Regions from separate parts of the Homo sapiens genome. Here regions 1, 2 and 4 are each linked to region 3. The links are contacts of gene promoters, found by promoter capture Hi-C in blood cells and fetal thymus (Javierre and others, 2016). All regions are on one chromosome and are shown on one strand. Each heading gives the region's core, a stretch centred on a gene start or on the middle of the fragment in contact. The rest is flanking DNA. Distances are from core to core; before and after follow the strand shown.

Evidence for each region. Contacts are between HindIII fragments. The CHiCAGO score rates a contact against its expected background, and 5 or more counts as called.
Region 1: a contact is called between a fragment that was not itself captured here and the fragment with the promoter of GZMK in region 3, in 1 of 17 cell types (total CD8 T cells). The highest score is 5.0, in total CD8 T cells.
Region 2: a fragment that was not itself captured here is called in contact with the fragment with the promoter of GZMK in region 3 in 6 of 17 cell types (total CD8 T cells, activated CD4 T cells, naive CD8 T cells and 3 more); the score reaches 7.6 in total CD8 T cells.
Region 4: a contact is called between a fragment that was not itself captured here and the fragment with the promoter of GZMK in region 3, in 4 of 17 cell types (total CD8 T cells, activated CD4 T cells, naive CD8 T cells and 1 more). The highest score is 7.8, in total CD8 T cells.

The regions. Positions count from the first base shown.
Region 1 is chr5:54,948,222-54,951,575 of GRCh38, reverse strand. No RefSeq gene overlaps it. Among named protein-coding and RNA genes, the nearest start is that of ESM1, 36 kb to the left of the region's middle. The HindIII fragment of the contact is 1,685 bases long and covers 611-2,295 here.
Region 2 is chr5:55,125,512-55,128,596 of GRCh38, reverse strand. It overlaps CDC20B (cell division cycle 20B), which reads left to right. Exons shown (of 12, transcript NM_001170402.1): 7 at 1-176; 8 at 1,246-1,340. Among named protein-coding and RNA genes, the nearest start is that of GZMA, 24 kb to the right of the region's middle. The HindIII fragment of the contact is 5,522 bases long and covers 1-3,085 here.
Region 3 is chr5:55,022,882-55,026,151 of GRCh38, reverse strand. GZMK (granzyme K) reads right to left here and starts at 1,896. Exons shown (of 5, transcript NM_002104.3): 1 at 1,766-1,896; 2 at 1,345-1,492. The coding sequence starts at 1,829. LOC102467081 (a long non-coding RNA gene) reads left to right here and starts at 1,983. Exons shown (of 3, transcript NR_104662.1): 1 at 1,983-2,223. The HindIII fragment of the contact is 1,874 bases long and covers 1,587-3,270 here.
Region 4 is chr5:55,143,273-55,146,603 of GRCh38, reverse strand. It overlaps CDC20B (cell division cycle 20B), which reads left to right. Exons shown (of 12, transcript NM_001170402.1): 4 at 2,961-3,091. Among named protein-coding and RNA genes, the nearest start is that of GPX8, 15 kb to the left of the region's middle. The HindIII fragment of the contact is 3,795 bases long and covers 1-3,331 here.

The DNA.
Region 1 (3,354 bases), core at 204-2,703, 74 kb after region 3:
ATTATTACTATTTTAATAGCTGACAGCAGAATTTCCCTTAGGGAAGAAGCAAAAAATAGTGGATCCCCACAGCCTAGAGGTACTGACACCAAGGCTTTACGAAAGAGAGAAGAAGAATTCTGCATGAAGAAGGAAGGGAATTTGTCTCTCTCTTGGGAAGAGAGAAGGTCATTTGATCTCAGCCTAGTGATACAGTGCTGCTTCTCCAGCTGTCTATACAGCCTGTTACTTCCGGCATTCTGTTCTTCATGTGAACAGTTCCTACTTACATAATGACCTCTAGGCTAGAACTTCCTAGGTCAGTTATACACCAAGATCTAAGCATTTTAGAAACGGAGATGTTAGCAAGTTTATCTAGGCAATTAAAATAATGTTCCATTTCGTAGACTGAATAGGGTGGGAAAGATGAGACAGCAGAGGAAGAGAGGAACCAGCAAGATGTAGCAAGGCTGGGTTCAGGTAATGTGACCAGTCATGAAGCTCAAACCACTCACTGGTGGGTTAGCTGGGAACATTTCAAAGACAGTGATGGTTGTGATTTAATTTGCAGTTGTTTGTGTTGTTCCATTGCAAATGTGTTTTCCATCACCTTCAAACAAACCCAAAAGCTTCAGCAAAGTCTACCTTGCTCTCAAGCCCCTAGGATGAGTGAGGTTTTACTAGGTGGAACTCAGCAAAGGAGCTAATATTATGTCTGAGTGAACCCAGTACAACCAGAAGCAGTGTCCTAAAAAGCAAAGATGTGATTTTGAAAGGGCAGACATCTCGGAGATTGATTTAAAATTCTACAGGCTGGGAAATTTAGGGGTTCTAGGCACCTCCGATCTTGGCAATCTGATGCCAGAAAACACTCTTCTTCTGCTTGCAAAATGGGAGCAAAAACCCTGGGCCTTCAAGGTTCCTGTCATTCAACTATGCTACCATTTCTTCCTCCTTACTGGTCACCTACCAGCCTCCGGCTGTCTTCCCCTCCATTGCTGATGACTTGGACTCTTGGCTCACAGGTATCCTGTTAAATTGTCACCCTGGGTCACTTTATAACCTTGTGGACAATCCATCCAACACTGGGACCTCTCACAGCCACCACCGTCTTATCTACAATGCCTTCTCTTCTTTTTACCCAGTAAATCCACAGTCTACTTTGGACCAAAATTGCTCATAACTGTGTTACCTTCCAAATCACAAATTCAGATAATTTGCTGTCTGACTACAGTCTGTCCTCCTTTCAATCTGCCCAATTAATCACATCATGAATACTCTTAAGCCATATCGGGACCTTCAGTTTCCAATCCACTGGCCTCTTCACATCTCCACTTCCTTCCTTATTCATCTGGGATTTCATGGTACATCAATTTTGAAAATCACATCAAAACAAAACAAAACAGCTCTTGCCAATTTCTCAAATTTGTTTGGACCTCTGGCTTTTTGCTTCATTCATCTGACAAAACCCTCACACAGGAAACACTCAATTGTCCGGCCCTTCAGGTTGTCAATTGAGGAATAACTCCTACTTGAGATCTTTCTGTACATGGACTTTAGGTGTTGCTTTTAACTGATATAGTGTTGAAAATAGAGTTACACAATTGTGTGATCTAGGGTGGATGTTTAAATACCGCAATCCATATCAGTCATTATTTATATCCAAGCTGAATTTTTTTTTTTTTTGAGATGGAGTCTTGCTCGGTCACCCAGGCTGGAGTCCAGTGGCATGATCTTGGCTCTCTGCAACCTCCGCCTCCTGGGTTCAAGTGATTCTCCTGCCTCAGCCTCCCAAGTAGCTGGGACGACAGGCACCTGCCACCACCCCTGGCTAATTTTTAGTAGAGGCAGAGTTTCACCATGTTGGCCAGGCTGGTCTCGAACTCCTGACCTCAAATGATCCACTCACCTCGGCCTCCCAAGTGCTGGGATTACAGGTGTGAGCCACCGTGCCAGGCTCTGATCTAATTTTTTGATCTCACTTCCCAAGCCAGGCATCTCTCACATTCTCCATCCCTTTTTTTCTTACTTCTCTTTCTCCCTCAACACATCAAATAATTATCAAATCTTGTTGATTCTAAGTCTAAAATCACTCTCAACTTTCAACCTTTCTTCTTCCCTGCTGCTACTGCCATGGTTCAATTCTCTCATTTCTGTTACAGACAATGGAAATCACTTCCCAACTGGCTTTACTGCTTCCCATCTCTAGCCTTTCCATTTCTTCTTCATTTTTACAAAATGCACAACAGATTATGCTATTTCTGCTGCTAAAGTCTCTAATGAACCACCAGTACTTGCAGTATTCTTAGTGAAGCTTAAAATCTTTTACATTCAGTCCCCTAGAAGTCTTTCCAGACCTACCTCCTACTCTCTTCCTCACACACTTTTCACCCTGGCTGCAACACATGATTCTGTGTTCCTAAAGTACACACTGGACATCAGCACTCTCCTTGTCACTGCTCACATTGTTTCCTTGATGATGAAGTCTCATAGTCTTCATCTGTTCTCACTCTACTTAGCCATCAAAACATATATCTGTATATATACATATATGAATATGAATATATATACACACACACACACACACACACACATACCTAGATTCTCTGGTGTACATATGTGCATATACACTCAGTGCGTGCTGGTAAATGTCTAACAACCAGTTCTCAGGGGGAAAAATCCCCAACTAGTTTTGTATGATGATTTCTATGGTATAAATATTCTACCATGGATGATTACAGCTACCTGTATGCCACTGGACTTAGGGCTGGGAAGAGACACATACCTTGGCCTTCTTGAGCCAGTAGAAGCTGCATCCAGCACACCATTATTATGTACATTTATATAGACATATATTTACATATATACATCCAAGCAGATCTTTCTTTTGAGTTCAACTTTTAAATTCTTGTTATTTTTATTTTTTTTAACTTTTATTTTAGTTTCCGGGGTACATGTGCAGGTTTGTTATGTAGGTAAACTCATATAATGGTGGTTTGTTGACGGATTATTTCATCACCCAGGTACTAAATCTAATATTGGATAGTTATCTTTTCTGTTCCTTTCCTTCCTCTCACCCTCCACCCTCAAGTAGGCCCTAGCGTCTGTTGTGTCCTTCTTTGTGTTCATAAGTTCTTATCATTTAGTTCCCACGTATAAGTGAATTGGTTTTCTGTTTCTGCATCAGTTTGCTAAGGATGGTAGCCTCCACCTCCATCCATGTTCCTGCAAATGACACGATCTCTTTCTTTTTTATGGCTGCATACTATTCCATGGTGTATATGAACCACATTTTCATTATCCAGTCTACCATTGATGGGCATTTAGTTTGATTCCATGTATTTGCTATTGTGAATAGTGCTGCAGTGAACATAC
Region 2 (3,085 bases), core at 6-2,505, 100 kb before region 3:
GTTTTCAGAATCTTGTTGCCATAGCCCTGGGCTCTGCTGTATACATCTGGAATGGGGAGAACCACAATGGGATTGAAAACATAGACTTAAGTCTCACTTGTAACTATATCTCTTCTGTGTCCTGGATAAAAGAGGGAACTTGCCTGGCAGTTGGCACCAGCGAGGGAGAAGTGCAAGTACTGGCCAGTTTTTTTTTTTCTCATCATGTTCTCTGTGTATTATTACACTATAATTGACTTTTAATAACAAGTTAATGTAAAATAGAGAAACTAGGTGTGGCTCTTGAAGTATGGGGAATAAAAGGAGATGACATTCCGCTTTTTTTTTTTTTTTTTTACTGAATGGTTTTTAATGAAAACGTAAGGATACTCTGGTTAGTTTCCACCACAATCTTTCTGTCATATTTAAAAATATATTTTCTCTGAAACTAAAGTTGGGCTTGTAGAATCTCCAGTTTTGGAGCTTTGGAGAGAGGAAGATACTTTCAGTTCTCCTTTTCACCTGAAGCCGTGATTAAGAGTACAGTTATAGAAAATGAGTGAATTTTTTTTTCTGATAGGCTCCTTGAGATGGGGATTTATCAAATTTCCATCAATCTATCTGATTTCTCATGTATCATTATTATTGTTTATTACCAATAGAATAAACAATATCACTCATGTGCAAATGACTTAGGAGGGCCACAGATGGCTCTCTCACTGCTTTCTCATCTCTGCAATGATAATGAATGCTGTGAAGTCTATGTCATGATTTCTTCTTACACCAAAGTTGTCATTCCCCATGTGGATCAGAATATTATCTGTAGCTCGCAGGAAGGGAGTCTCTTAGCAGTAAGTGGAATTACTGATTCTAGGAAGTGTCCGGGTACCCACATCTTATTAATACATTTGTTGGTAACTGTGGGTAGATTTCCAGATTTGGAATTCTCACAATTTAGAAGGAGCTAGAAATGTGGTAATAATTCTCAACCCTTGGCTGCACATTGAATTCACCTGGGGAGCTTTAAAACAACTGCCATATATCCCCAGGCTCTACTCTACCAACTAAATCAGCATCCATAGTGTTATAGACTCCCCAGCTGATCCTAATACACAGTCAGAATTGAGAACTGCTGGCTAGATGTGCTGGGTTTTCACTTAGTACAAAAACTAACAATATCAGCAGTAATTGGCTCTCAGGCCTTTGAGAAGACAGTGGGCTGTGAAAACTCCAATGCTACATAACTCTCCTTGTTCATTTTTTCAGTTATGGGATGTGGTAACTAAAAAGCGGCTGAGAAATATGCTTGGTCATTTGTCAGTAGTTGGGGCTCTGAGCTGGAATCACTTTATCCTCAGCAGGTAAGAAGCGTCTTGTTGGAGACAGTTATGTTTGTATTAACAATTGATTATGGGGCCTGAGTAAACAGTTGTAATATTCAAAACCTAAACCAATCAAAAATAAAACAAAATAGGCCATTGGACTTAATATCAGGTATGATCCCACCCTCTCAGGTATTCAGATCTGCTGGTCATGTAAGTGTCTTGGTGGCCACATGTATCATGTGTGCCTTCTGCATGGGATGCACTAAATTGTTCAGATAAAATGTGAAAATCCCTTCAAGCAAAAGGTTTCTCTGTGCTAAGTAATAGGTACTAAAGGGATATTTTGCTGAAATCAAGTATTTATTGCTGTCAGTATCTATACTATGGAATATGTTAAGCTCTCTGGGACACATTTCCAATTCATAGACCCACAGAAATTAGAGCAGAAGGAACCTCATAGATTATCCTGTTCAGTAGTTCTCAAACTAGAACATGTATCAGAATCACCTGGAGAGCTCCTCAAAATGCAGATTGCTGGCTTCACTTGAGGGACTTCAGATTCATTAGGTCTTGAGGGGCTGATAATTGGCATTTCTCATTTCCCAAGTGATGCTGATGATACATCCCTTTGAGAACTAGTGATTTAGTTTAACTGCTTCTTTTTAACCAGAAAAATTAAGGGACTTTTTCCTATGAGCCTACATAACTGGTCTAAATATATATTGCTTTTAATCATAGCCATTCATTTTCATATTGTAGTTCTTAAGGTTAAGGTAGACTTAAGTTAGATAAATCCCAAAGACTGTTTTTTTTTTTTTTTTTTTTTGACATGGAATCTCACTCTGTCACCTAGGCTGGAGTTCAGTGGCGTGATCTCAGCTCACTGCAACCTCCACCTCCCGAGTAGCTGGGACTACAGGCGCCCACCACCATGCCTGGGTAATTTTTGTATTTTTAGTAGAGATGGGGTTTCACTATGGTGGCCAGGATGGTCTTGAACTCCTGACCTTGTGATCCACCTGCCTCGGCCTGCCAAAGTGCTGGGATTACAGGTGTGAGCCACCGCGCCTGGCCATCCCAAAGACTTTTAAAATGTATTTAAGTAATCTGATGTAAACTTGAGACTTGAATATCTTGTGTTTTTGGCCGGTCTTAAAACAACTTAGTTATTGCAGTCAATTATGTACTCAAGCTCCTTTTCTAATCTGCATTGTTAAAATTTAGTTTCATTATCCACGAGGAAAATGAGCAGATCCTTTCTTATAATAATAGCAGCTAACATTTTCAGACTACTCTGTGCCAGGCACTGTGCTATACTTTTTATGTGTGTAATTTCATTTTAATCACTGCAGTAACATGATAAGGTGGTCTCTTATCCTCAATTTTGTTTTTTCAAATTAAACTAAGACACTAGCCTGAAGTCACATGGTTAGTAAGTGATGGAGTTGGAATAACCCAGCTGGTCTGGCTCCAGAGCCCATATTGTTAATCACAATGCTGTTCAGCATTGCATAGTTTTAAACAATGCGACACTGGACTTTGAGAAATGTCTGAAATAATTGTGGAACATCATTTACTTACTCCTTAGAGAAAATTAAATTAATCCAGAAAGCGTTCATTATCTTTGAAAAAGTGATGTGATCTTTAGTTGTTTAGATTCACATCACTGAGCATGAATGGAGACATTATCCACTGCTTAGGAATCATATTGCAGTTTGCTGTGACATTCAATTGGTTTTAAACTTCTTTTACAAAGAAGTTTAGTTCTTTAGCAAAACTAA
Region 3 (3,270 bases), core at 647-3,146:
AGAAGTCAAGCTCTGTGTCTGGGGAGGTTATAGACCATTTGAATGTGTATTATGAGCATATTTGAAGATGTGCATATTTTGCATCAAATGAACATTCGCTGACAGTTCCCCACTCTGTCTCTCTGATCTCGAGGGGGCAAATGCCCTGGAGAAGAGAGAAGTGATGGGGATGAGAGTGTGATTTCTATGAGGGCAAGAACCCTGTGTAAATGAAGTAACCATATTAAATTGGAAATCAGTGGCTTGCTATTTAGAGATAGCAGAAGATCTCCCAGTTTGCAGGCTTCAAAACTTCCAATTTGTGATCAAACAGTTCCATTTAAATGGGGTAATCAGACAAAACCCCCAAAGCATAGAAAAGCAAATCAATTCAATTGTTCTGTTTAGATATAGACAATGCCTGGAGAGCAAACCATTACAGCTAAGAGAGATCTTTAAGTGAAAGAAAAGGAGAAGGCTCCATTTCAGCTTATTAGGTAAGAAACATAAGGAAACATATATACAAACAAAAAACAAAACCAAAAACCCAAGCAAACAAACAAAACAACAAATACCAAATTAGTTTTCTACTGGCATTTCCTTTTGTGATGGTTGCAGCATCCCAAGAGGGGTTTTGTGCTTTATTAGCTGAAGTAAGAGAATCCTAGGCTGAAATGGACTTTGGAAGGTTTTACTCTGTCTTCAGAAAAGCTTTCATTCTAAGTATCCTAGAAAATAACTCTCTCATTATCTTTCTCTTTCTAGAAGTCATCAATAACTTGTTTTTTTCCACCTAGGAAAGTTGTAAGTGGTGAGTAGCTACTGTTAGGTAGCTACTGTTAGGAGTGGCAAAGTAGGCTTCTCATGCGTATAATACTAATGATAATAGCTGCAATTTTTTTGTGCTTACTAAATGTGCCAAGCATGCTAAAATACTTAAACAGATACTATTTAATTCTCAAAACCCACAAAGCAGGTATGATATGATTATTACCCCTTTGTAAAATGGGGAAGCTCAGAGCACAGAGCAAGCTCAGGTTGTCTGATTTCCTTTTGAGCAGTGTGATCTAACAAGGTCAAGAGTACTGCTGCTTCAAGTATTACTGTTGCTGTGTTCCCTGCATTATACAGAGGACTTGAATTTGTCTAATGTCTTGCCTGGGAAAAGCAGCTCAGTTCTCTCTGAAAAGGAAAACCCAAGACAGAAAGCGTGGATGTGGAAGAAGGTAAATAAACGCCACCAGTTGGTCAGTAACCACAGAAGCTAACAGTAGATCAAATTCTCATTCAGGAGAGGTAAGCTTCTCTTGTACCTATAATAACTTTCAGAAAAAACACATGTCTGGAAAAGTGTGGAGGACTCACCGATATTGGCAGTGGGCTGCTGTCAGCACCCACTGTGGATCAATCAGAACACCTCCACAAACGTGATGTCCGCCATACTGGATGGAGGCCATAAATGGCCTGGAATGAGGTGACACTTCTTTCCCTCCAATAATTTCCATATTGAAACCTACAAAAGTAGACCAAAAGGTTTCACACAAAAGATCTAAACTACTGTTTCATGTAATTCTTCCAATGACAGTCACTATATTATTTTCAAAGCTTAAAAAACAACAATAACCCTACCTAAAAGCTACAATAATTTTACTGATGAAAAATTTGTATAATACATTACAGTTCAGAAAGATAGGAATGATTGTGAAAATAATTTTCATCTATAATATAACAATATAGTCAGTAGAAATTCATTTAATGTTTACATGTAGATATAGGAGATACTTACACACATGAGTCATATAAGCCCCAACTATTAGGAAAAACAGAGAAAAGGAAGAAAACTTAGTCATTTTAAAGATTTAGATTTAAGAAGCCCAGATGAAATGTGTTGATCCTGTGATGAAGGAAGAAGATTCTGAAGACTGAGTTTTGTTCTTGTAAGTTTTGACTTTCTCACCACAGGTGCTCTAGGGGTAAGATTTTTTTTCACACCTAGGTGTAAACGTTATGTATCAGTTTGGGGACTTTCAGGTCTGTGCTTTTAGCACTTTTTTGTTTTGTTTTGTTTTGAGACGGAGTCTCTCTCTGTCGCCCAGGCTGGAGTGCAGTGGCGCGATCTCGGCTCACTGCAAGCTCTGCCTCCTGGGTTCACGCCATTCTCCTGCCTCAGCCTCCCGAGTAGCTGGGACTACAGGCGCCCACCACCACATCCGGCTAATTGCTTTTAGCACTTTTTTGGGAGAGGTATGTATGCCATAAAGAACTCATATCTGGAGATACCATCTCTAATACCTGTATCAGAGTACTTATGCTATAAAGAAAATTTATACTATATGTGTATATAATATTTATAAATGAAAAATATCCATGCCATAAGAATGTAATGAAGTTGCAGACAGAGTTCAAAGATGTCCATTGCTCTCAAGCAATACTTACTATTTTTCCTGGCACAAAATGGTGCCTATCATATTTCATTCTTCTCTCTTTTTCATTTGGACATAGATTTATGATGAAGAGAGACATGGACCTTGCACAGATTATGGTTACTTCACAATGTGGCTTAGCTAAAGCCTGAGCACCAACCAGAGAAAACCATATGTTTTGCAGCAAACATCCCTACTCATGTCGTTTCTCTAAGTTTGCCCAAATTTGGTTAAATTTTAGTTACATTTTTGTGAGATTTCATAATGTTGTTAAAGGTGAACATTGGCAACTATTTTTGATTCAGAGTCTCTCTTTTACTCATTTTTAATTGAAAATGGCCATGTGTTTTTCCAGGGACTTAATAATAATGTCTTTTAAAAATAAAGGACTGCATTTTGTAATTCTTCCCAGGAACAGATGACAATGCATTGCCAGGCCTTCAATACAAAAGGTATTAGACTCAAGATTCTACAAGATTCTGTTTGTGCCAGACACTGATCAGCAGTGCAAATATAAAATGAATACAAACAGATCACGCATCAGAATGCCAATCACTTCCTAGTAACACTGATCAAAATTTGCATTAAATCAACAGATCTTTCTTTTAAGAGGTATGCATTTTATCTTCCATTCATTTTAGAAAGGAGAATTAAAATCCAGAGCTATTATGCTCGGCAGATTGCAAGAGACTCCTTTCAAATTGTTTTCTAGCACAAAGAGTAGGAATAATAAAAAATAATACTATAATTATGTATTATTCATTATAACTTAATAATATATAAGTAAAATACCTTATTTCCAAAATTCTTTTTATATGATCATTTATGGTTTCATGTCTATGTCTTTGAGGAAAGCAGGACAACTTAT
Region 4 (3,331 bases), core at 576-3,075, 120 kb before region 3:
CCCGTTTTGCAACGTGAATAAAAGATATATTCCTGAGAGAATCTTTGTCTTGTAGAACTAAGGAGTGTCACTTTGAGTCAACTCTTTTCTCTTTTTCTCCCTTTGAATAAGAAATTTCCAAGGTGGGGAGAAATGACACAAAAACAAAGGAAAGGTACTGTATGTGTTTAAAAACAAAAACAAAAACAAAACTTTAGACAAATTAAATTTTACAAAGTTAATTGTGCAAAGAACCGTTGGCCAATGGGCAACCAGAGAGCCACTCCATGTGGGGGCGGGCAGCATTTATGGATAGGAATTGGAAGTGCGTAGGAGCCGGCCTGATTGGCTACAGCTCAGTTCGCCTTATTTGCACGTGGTCTGATTAGTTGGCCGCCTGTGATTGACTGAAGCTCAGCTTCTGTGATTGGCGGAGACTCAGCTAAGTTAGGCTTTCAGTTAGTTTACATCCCAAGTTAGGTTGCAGTTTGAGATGTAGGGACTCATCCTACATCCTCAGGCAAAATTTAGCTTAATTTTAATATGTTTTTGAGACTTGCATTGGTTAGATGATTACTTTTGTAAAGATTGTATGAATGTATATGTATATATGTATATGTACACATACACACATATATATGTGCTTTTGTTTTGCAAAGTATAGAATTTTAATGACTGGTAAGGTTACTGGTATACAGAGTCAGAAAAAATTATGCGTTAGTAATGGAATAATCAGATGTGAAATGGAAGAAAAAGACAGAAGCAGGAGAGAATGAGAGGAAGAGAAAGTAAGAGGAAGGAAGCAAGAGAGAGGGATGAGGGGATGGATGGGGGGAGAGAGACAAAGAGAAAGAGAGAAGAGAGGAGGAGACAGAGGAGGAGGAGGAGGAAGAAAGAAGAAAGAAGAACCTCCAAGAGTAGTAGGGAAGAAGAAGAGGGAAGGAAAGGAGAGTGAGAGACAGTCTGATGCCTATGTTGGGGCAGAGATGGGGGAGTGGGCTCCAAACCACCAGTGTGATGGGCAGGATCCATGATCAACCTGCCAGAGCCCCGAAACACAAACTCTCTTTCTGAAATATGTAATTCTCATTTGGGCACAGACATTTTCATTCCCATCCTTCAGAAGCAAAATTTGCCACCTATCATCAGCTGATGTAATTCCCATTCTTTCTTTTGAGAATCCTAGGCAACATAATTCTTTTGACTATCAGCGTATTTATTAAGACAAATGTTAATAGAAGTGCCAACTCTTTTCAATGACATCAGACATGATGATGCATTGCAGTTCTGCAGATTGAAAGGGAGCCCAGATTTTTTTCAAATCAATGAAATTCCCATGTAACGACAGGCTTTAATACTGAAAGTATTTAATAACCGAGGAGGGAAGCAGTAGGAGATAAAGGGTTGTGAAAAACATTGTTATGACTATCTTCTGAAAGAAATCTTTTGTATCTCATTGCAATTGAGGGACAGTTTTGATGCTGATTGTTTTTGGAAGAATTTCTGGCTAAAATTAGGGGCTCCCTTTTACTTTCTAGGTTCTTAATTAATTTATTGATTTTTTAAAAAAGTATGACATTGTGTGAGAAATTCAGAAATCAGATATTAACAAAAAGGATTTTACAAGAAAGACCATTTTATTTTCTACTGAAGTTAATACTAGGGATTAATCAGATCTACTGGTTTCTCAGTGCTTTGCTAGTGGGGTTTCTTTCTTTTTGTTTTAGAAGAGCAGATACTGAAGATCCTCCCATTCCAAAGGGACATTTACAGAGAGGTTCATTTTCAGTCATGCTCTGTGGACAGAACCTGAGAGGTCCCTTCTTTCTTAGGCTGATGGACCTGACCTCTTTGTATATAACTGTGATGATTGTCAGTACTAGCCTCTGACTGCAACTTTTTCTTTCTCATTTGAAGTTCTGAGAGCTGGCTTTTTCTCCCCTGTACACTTTTACAAATAGCACAAGAAAGCAAGCATGCATAATTTCTCAGGACAAAGAGCAAGATCTAAAACTTTGACCAGCATTTCATATTTTTATCCTTCTTCTCCCTAAATGTAATATATATTGCTTAAATTTTGAATGTCCCAGTACTTAAGGTACTAGGCTCTAGGAACATTAGTGAGAATTTATCAAGCTCATGGTTGTCCAAATGAAGAAGAGATTGTCACATGGCAAAAGGCTAAGATTTTCCAATGGTCCCTTGGCTCCTGTGATGAACAAGTGATATGGCAGATATTTAGTTTTAGAGAATGACTTGACAGGTTTCCAGGGCAGTTGAAAGTCTGGTAAAGGGCTTTCTCAATCTTGAGAAGAGAGTAGATAGGAATAATATTGATGCAAGTAACATTGACCCTTCTATTACTTTAACTTAGAAAGTATTTCACTGATGCCATCTTAAACTATCTTTAAAACATCTTTCTGCAATAGAAAGGGGGAGAGAGGCAAAGTGATTTGCTCATGATTATGTAGTGAATGTCAATGCTGGCAAAGCAAGCATCCCATAATGTTTTCCTTGCAGGATGACCATAGCTCGGGCAAACCAGATACTCTTTCCACTATCATTTAAAACTATGGAACTGTTTCTATCCATTCTTCAAATGTGCAAATCTGGTTTTTTTTTTTTTTTTTCCATACAGAGATAAAGCATTCACACTGCTGCTGCAGCAAATGAAGTCAGGTCTTTAATCTTGGCACCTCTTCCCTGCTCTAGAGGCCACTGAGACAGCTTTCTCATTGAGTGACAACCTTATGAAGTCAGCAGTCTGGATAGGATTCTGTACTGCTCTCTGCAATGGACTTTGGAGCGACGAGAGCCTGGGCTTTTTCACTCTGTCCTGCTCTCTGCAATGGACTTTGGAGTGACGAGAGCCTGGGCTTTTTCACTCTGTCCTTCTGTGAAAGATGCCACAGCCAGACCTACAATCAAAGTGATTATCTTGTTTTAAAAACCAAATTCAAAGATAAATGTCTTTCTTGTAGGATCCCGCAAAGAACAACTGAAGACCCCCAGCAAAGGAATTTCTGAAACAAGTAACTCTGCTCTCCATTTTTGCAAGGCACCTCATGCAATGGACAGAGACTGGAAAGAAAGTGTTGCCTCAAAAGGGCAGGTAGGTAAAGAGAAAAAAACTGAAGATCCCACATCTAGAGAAGCTGAGACAACTTAGTTGCAAATGTAAGGGAAGAGTTGCTTAGTTCTCTTACCAATCAATAAGAAAATGATGCATTCCTGATAAAAAATGAATAATTGAAGGATATGAATAGAGCCACTTTGTAAAAGAAAGAAGATATCCCCCAAATATATGAGAAAATGTTGAGTTGGGATTAATTAAAAAAGTGAAAATGAGAAT